Linked DNA regions of Homo sapiens: region 2 is linked to region 1. Evidence: promoter capture Hi-C in 16 types of primary human blood cells and fetal thymus (Javierre and others, 2016). All regions are on one chromosome and are shown on one strand. Each heading gives the region's core, a stretch centred on a gene start or on the middle of the fragment in contact. The rest is flanking DNA. Distances are from core to core; before and after follow the strand shown. Region 1 holds the start of QNG1 (Q-nucleotide N-glycosylase 1). Region 2 has its middle 52 kb from the start of SLC28A3-AS1.

Evidence for each region. Contacts are between HindIII fragments. The CHiCAGO score rates a contact against its expected background, and 5 or more counts as called.
Region 2: a fragment that was not itself captured here is called in contact with the fragment with the promoter of QNG1 in region 1 in 2 of 17 cell types (neutrophils and endothelial precursors); the score reaches 5.2 in neutrophils.

Annotation. Positions count from the first base shown.
Region 1 is chr9:83,955,403-83,959,123 of GRCh38, forward strand. It overlaps QNG1 (Q-nucleotide N-glycosylase 1), which reads right to left and starts at 1,340. Exons shown (of 4, transcript NM_032307.5): 1 at 762-1,340; 2 at 1-238. The coding sequence starts at 1,098. The HindIII fragment of the contact is 8,080 bases long and covers 1-3,721 here.
Region 2 is chr9:84,224,521-84,228,159 of GRCh38, forward strand. No RefSeq gene overlaps it. Among named protein-coding and RNA genes, the nearest start is that of SLC28A3-AS1, 52 kb to the right of the region's middle. The HindIII fragment of the contact is 4,396 bases long and covers 130-3,639 here.

The DNA of each region.
Region 1 (3,721 bases), core at 90-2,589:
TAAGAAGGAAAACTTTCAACCACCAGGTGCATTAACTTCTGCGCACTATTCTCACTTTCTCGGACGCAGTTGAGAAAAGAGCCTCCAAACTTCTCCAGCAGAATTTTCCCGGTTTCATTGAGAATCCGATGCCTCTCTTCTACTAAAGGCATGGAAACGTCTGTGTCAGAACGAAGTATATTCCGAACCTGATCCAGGGTCACTGTCGCGTAGTACGAGGCACTAGTTATTGGTATCCCTTTAGTGAAAAAATAAAATTCAGAGGACCAATGTCATACTTCCATATGCATTAAACCCTTGCTTTTACAACATGGAATTAATATGAAACCAAATGAGTGGTATAGGAATGCACCAAAAGTGGAAGAATAAAAAATCTAAAGCAAAACTCATTTTCTACTTGTTCATCTGTACTTATTCACCCATTTCTAACTATTGCAATATTACATCAGATGTATTCTGAGTAAATTGCTTTATAACATCGGTCCTTTTGTTCTTCAGGTGTCATTCAAATGGCATTCTTTATAAAACTGACTTTTATGCTACTGTAACTTTTATGCTGCAATGATAAATATTAACATCATTTTCCACTAAAATATGCCCCTTTTCATACTTCTATTTTAAGCATAAGGACTTGCAACGAACTTCAGGTTCGCTTTCCATTATTCCATCTCCCAACCCGCTCCTTGGAACTCCCCTACACACACCCCAAGTAAATGGAAACCTCAAAGGCCGTTAGGTCCGATGGCAAGTATGGCACCAACCTTCGTCGAGGGCTCTGTTGACGGCGGCGCACAGGGACCAGTACCCACTGTATGTTTTCCCTCTGTACCTCACCACACACTTGTGCTCGTCCTGCTCCGACCAAAAGGAGAAGTTGAGCGTGTCTGTCACGAACACCCAGTTGACCGCGGCCTCGTCGGCCGCCCTGGGGTTCAGCTCATGAAGGGCTTTCCACCCCTCCACGCGCAGCTCTGGCCCCGCCGCCTTGGCCAGCAGCAGCTCTGCCACCCTCCGTACGCCTCCGCTGTCAATAAACACATCCCGACTGTTTTCTGCAATGAATTTAGAGGATTCCCTGGGATTTAGGAGCCCGTCCATTCTGCCCTTTGGGACCCGGCGGGCCAAACTCTTCCCGCCCTAGGCGGGTCAAGGTCCACTCTGCGCCTTGCGCTACTACGAACCGCGCGATCACAGGGCCTAAACAAGGTCCCGCCCTGCCAGGGAGTGGCACCGAGAACTTAGTGCAGCCAAGGTAAAGGTTCTCTCCCGCGGCGTTGCCCTGATTAGGAAACCAGAGAGACCCCGGGGCAGCTCGCTGGGCAGAGGCCGCAAGCACTTCCGGGAAAGCGGTCCCGTTCACGCCCTCTCGGGCGCGCTCTCAGGCTCCGCTTCCGGTTCCAAAGGTCTGGAAACTGCTAAGGGTCCGGCGTTCACCGGCCGTGAGTTGCCCACCCTGGGAGGTGCATGGCTTTGCCATGTTTTGCCTTTTCTCACCCCGCTTCGGACAGGTGGGACTCGAAGACGGCGACTCGCCGCCTTGCCCTGGGTCGCGATGCCCCCACCCCGCTCCCACCCCTCTCCTTTCCCGCAGCCTGAGCAAGACGCCTTCGGCAACGCCCCGCATCCGGGCTCCTTGGCCTCGAAGAGCATTATGGCCGTAGATCTGGGTGCTGAGGACTGAGCCACCCCCAGACTGCGACATGGGCGGCGGTGCCTCCTTCCCCAAGCCCCAGGGAGTGTTTTTTTGTTTGTTTTGTTTTTTGTTTTTGTTTAAGTGAATTCCTGGCCCATTTGGCCGAACGAACGTTAGGATTAGTTGGAAGGTTTGGAGAAATGGATGAGGAAACAAATGTGTTAAATTGTTAAATTAACCTTGTGTGCCTGGCAGTGTACTTAAGTACTAAATCTCACCTAGGCTGGGTCATGACGAAAGCGGCTATTGTGATCCCGCTTTTGCAAGTGAAGCTGAGTGGTTCATTGATTAACCCCCATCACAGCAATGGTTTGGGCTAGGATTTAAACCTTTGATAATTGAGCCCCCTAAATCGAGGGCACTTTATGAGCCAATCACCAGTGCCAACCATTCTGGTCAGTCAAATAGTGACTATATCAGTGGCCCTACTGAGAAGACATTAAAAATGAGGAAATAAGTGTCTCACAACTGCAAACTTACACAAGTACCTTATATTAGGAGAGAGGTGTAGAAGCCAATTTAGTGATGATCCAAATTTGACTGGTGATGAAGTTTTAGTATAAAGGTATGCATTTTTTTTCCTTTTGGAGACTTAAATCTCCATGGATAACGTTCACATCTTTGAAAATCACCTATTAAAAATAATCATCAGTACCCATCTCTAGTTACCGACAGGAAAATCTTGGTATTTTTGGAGGATTCGGAGCTTTTAAATTTGTTTGTTTGAGACAGAATCTCACCCTGTCGCCCAGGCTGGAGTGCAGTGGCATGATCTCAGCTCACTGCAACCTCCACCTCCCCGGTTCAAGTGATTCTCCCTGCCTCAGCTTCCCAAGTAGCTGGGATTATAGGTGTCAGCCACCACACCTGACTAATTTTTGTATTTTTAGTAGAGATGGGGTTTCCCTATGTGGGCCAGGCTGGTCTCAAACTCCTGACCTCAGGTAATCCACCCTCCTCGGCCTCCCAAATGGAGCTTTTTTTTTGAGACGGAGTCTCACTCTGTCATCCAGGCTGGAATGCAGTGGCACAGTCTCGGCTCACTGCAACCTCCGCCTCCTGGGTTCAAGCAATTCTCCTGGCTTAGCCTCCCGAGTAGCTGGGATTATAGGTGCCCGCCACCACGCCCGGCTAAGTTTTGTATTTTTAGTAGGGACAGGTTTTCACCATGTTGGCCAGGCTGATCTCGAACTCCTGACCTCAGGTGATCCGCCTGTCTTGGCCTCCCAAAATGCTGGGATTACAGGCATGAGCCACCACACCTGGCCCCAAATGGAGCTTTTAAATTTGACAGCTGTTACCCTAGAAAAGCAGATCTTCATCACTCCAGTTTCTTCATTTTGGTAAGAAAAAGGAACTTTAAGGACTCCACTATGATACGTTTTCCAGAAAAAGTCACTAGTACATTAATACAGTTGTTAAGGAAATGTAAGTCTGTTGGCTTGGGATTTTTCCTTTCTACCACAGCACCTAAGTCTTGGGAGACAAATTGATTTAGCAAGGAAATCTAGCAATCTGCAAAATAATCCAGAAGGGTAAATAACTTAGACCCTTTTCTCTCACTGAGGTTTATTGATAGAAAAAAGTCAAATGCCGGCCAGATGTGGTGACTCACGCCTGTAATCCCAGCTTTTTGGGAGGCCAAGGTGGGTGGATCAGTTGAGTGCATGAGTTCGAGGCCAGCCTGAGCAACATGGGGAAACCCTGTCTCTACCCAAAACACAAAAAATTAGGTGGGTGTGGTGGCATGCGCCAGTGGTCCCAGCTACTAGGGAGGCTGAGGTGGGAGGATCGTCTGAGCCCAGGAGGCAGAGAGATTCCAGTGAGGTGAGATTGTGCCACTGCACTCCAGACTGTGAGAAAAAGTGAGACCCCCCCCCGTTCCCCCTCCCACCCAAAAAGTCAAATTCCTGCCTATGTTCAAGGTATTTAAGCACTAAAAGTAGTATACACAAGAATAAAACATGCCTCCTTCACTCAACTTTGAGATAAATCAAAACTGTGTGTGTCTGGGATTTTTGTTTTTGT
Region 2 (3,639 bases), core at 1,078-3,577, 270 kb after region 1:
CCAATTTGTGAATCGTTCATTGCTCAATTAAACTCCTTTAAATTTAATCTGGTTAAAGTTTTTCTTTTATCAAGCCTAACACAGCAGGATATCTTGAAACAGGAGTTTAAAAGTCATGGGTAGATTCAAAGCTTTTTCTGATTTGCAGTTGGTTAAGGAAGACAGGCTCTGTTTAAACATTTGGGGACAGCAGAAAAGAATGTACGCTCTGACCTATGGGTGTGACTTCCTCCAGGCCCCTCAGGAAGAAATATAGAACAAAGAAAGGTGGTCAGGGTTCAGGCCTCAGTTTCCCCTTAGCTGAGGTCCATTTGCCTGCAGATCTGTTTGGTGAGGGTCTGGGTTTCTGAAAAACAACTTGGAGACATGGGTTAAAATGTTATCTTTAGTTTCTTAGGGGAACCAAATATCCCATACTTCTAGCTTCCCTGGCTCTTGTTTTAGAGTACCCTGTTCCTTATCAAGTCGCTTATTTACTTCTCAGGGCTAGCGATGTGCTTGGATCTTTTCTAGAAGGAATTCAAGATATTCCTTTATTTCCATGCTTGGGTGGGGGGATCTCAGGCCCCTAAGAGGGAAGCCCTGCTCCATCTCAATTTCTTGGAGAATCCTACCTAGGACAGGCTTTCTTCTTATTACTCTGCTAGAAAGCAGAGGCATGTGCCTCTGTTCTGGAGATGTGAGTGGCACAAGATGAAGTCTGAAGGGCAGAAAAACATTCTAGGTGTAAAAGGAATACATTCGAGGTAAGTTCCTTCCAGGAACTCTGAGAGTGAGTTGACGGAGTGGGCTAAGGTGGTTGCAGTGGTCAGTAGGAAGTGGTCAGTTGTGGTCAGATCTGGAATATGCCTGGAAGGTATAGAGAGGGAGGATTTACTGATGAGTTGAATGTGGGGTGTGTGAGAGAGAAGTCAAGGATGACTGCAGGGCTTTTAGTCTGTGCCTGAGGATCAGCAACAGAGTCATTATTACTCAGCTTAGAATATAGAGTATGGAGCCAGGCGCGGTGGCTCACACCTGTAATCTCAGCACTTTGGGAGGCCGAGGCGGGTGGATCACCAGGTCAGGAGATCAAGACCATCCTGGCCAACATGGTGAAGCCCCGTCTCCACTAAAAATACAAAAATTAGCTGGGCGTGGTGGCATGTGCTTGTAATATCAGCTACTTGGGAGGCTAAGTCAGGAGAATCACATGAACCCGGGAGGCAGAGGTTGCAGTGAGTCGAGATCATACCACTGCACTCCAGCATGGTGACAGAGTAAGACTCCATCTCAAAAAAAAAAAAAAAAAAAAAAAAAGGAAAAAAAGAAATATAGAGTATGGATTTAAGAGAGGTAACAGATATCCTGGTAGAGATGTTATGTAGGCAGCTGGATGTCAGAATCTGGAGTTCGGGGAAAAGGTTAGGGCTGGAAATACAAATTTGAGAGTCACCAGGATATAAATCGTTTATAAAGTCTAGGAACTGGATGATATCCCCTGGGCTTGGGTGCAGAAAGAGTACTGAGTCCCAAGGCCCTCCACCATTTAGAGATCTGGAAAAGGAGGCCAGTGCAAGAGAGCAGTCCCCTATATTTTCTGAGATAGAAATACAGAAGAAGCCCCTTTTTTACTGCTGCTATTTGTAATCAGCTGTAGAGCCTATTGAATAGATTAAACCAACTTAAGCATTTTAGAGTGTGAGAATTTGAAGAGGCCCTCATCATCACATGGTCCAGTGTTTTGCATACTGTGGGTCATACAAGGTCAGGAAACCAGTTTATTGAATCCTGACTGGCATTTTTAAACAAGTGAACTAAAATAGAATAGAAGACTTCAGAGTGTTACATGTAGTAGAGATAAGCATTGTTTTTGGAGCTACTCTTTCAGTGTGTGAGTGCGTGTGTGTGTGTGTGTGTGTCTGTGTATTGGTCACTATGCAATTTTTCTCCTTTTCCTTTGGCCCTCAGGTGCACAGAATTGAACCAATTATAATCCTTGGTTTGGGACACCACAGTATTGTCATGGTGCATAAGTGACCACTGTCTTTTACCTATCATGTAATATTTTAATTTAGAAAATAACATAAAAGTCACTCACAACTAAGAGCTAGAACATTTCCAGTAATTTACATTTAACAACCCTCTGCACCCCCCAACCCTACATAACCATGTCCTTAATTTTGTGTTTATCTTTCCCTTTCTCTTTTTTTATCCTTTTTATCTTTCTATGTGTAAACAATATGTTGTTTAAATCTGCTTTTTAAAAACTTTTCTATTTTTTTTTTTTTTTTGAGAAAGGGTCTCGCTTTGTTGCCCAGGCTGGAGTGCAGTGGTGTGATCTTGGCTCACTGCAACCTCTGCCTCCTGGGATCAAGCAATTCTCCTACCTCAGGCTCCCGAGTAGCTGGGTCTACAGGCGTGTACCACAACACCTGGTTATTTTTTGTATTTTTAGAAGATATGGGGTTTCACCACGTTGGCCAGGCTGGTTAAAAACTTTTTATGATGGAACATTTAAAATATATAAAAAAGCAGAGAGAGCAGTATAAAAAACCCCTCACGTGTCTATCAGTTTCCATAATGACCAATTCATGACCAGTCTTGCTTCATTTGTACCCCTGTTACTCCAATTGGAAGCAAATCGTCCAGATAACATATCATTTTAGCCATAAATATTTCAGCATAAGGCTTAATCATTAATACAAAATCATTATTATATCTAAAAAAATGTAACATTTAAAAATATCATTAAGGCTAGGCACAGTGGCTCATGCCTGTAACCCCAGCACTTTGGGAGGGCGAGGCAGGTGGATCACCTGAGGTTAAGAGTTCGAGACCAGCCTGACCAATATAGTGAAACCCCATCTCTACTAAAATAAATACAAAAATTACCCAGGCGTGGTGGTATGCACCTGTAGTCCCAGCTACTCGGGAGGCTGAGATAGGAGAATTGCTTGAACCTGGGAGGCGGAGGTTGCAGTGAGCCAAGATCATGCCACTGCACTCCAGCCTGGGTGACAAAGCAAGACTCTGTCTCAAAACAAATAAAAATATCGTTAAATATCCCATCATTTTCAGAGTACCAATTGTCTTAAGAATTCTCTCATTTATGAAAAAAAATCAAAAACTTGAACTCTGACCTGATAATTAAAAATGTTATGAAATAATTGTTTTTTTTTGGTTAGTATGGTTATATAGTTTATGTTTATTAATATTTTGGTTATTTTTGTTGTTGTTGTTTATTTTATTTTATTTTTTTTGAGGCAGAGTCTTGCTCTGTCACCCAGGCTGGAGTGCAATGGTGCGATCTCAGCTCACTGCAACCTCTGCCTCCCGGGTTCAAGCGATTCTCCTGCCTTGGCCTCCTGAGTACAGGCGTGTGCCACCACGCCTGGCTAATTTTTGTATTTTTAGTGGAGACGGGGTTTCACCATGTTGACCAGGCTGGTCTTGAACTCCTGATCTCAGGTGATCCACCCACCCCCGCCTCCCAAAGTGCTGGGATTTACAGGCGTGAGCCACCGGGCTTGGCCTATTTTTGGTTATTTTTTACAAGATTCTTTATTTTTGAGGTATATATATATATATCTCTCTCTGAGAATTTTGAATATATATATTCAGTATATATATATATTTACTGAAATATGAATGAGATGA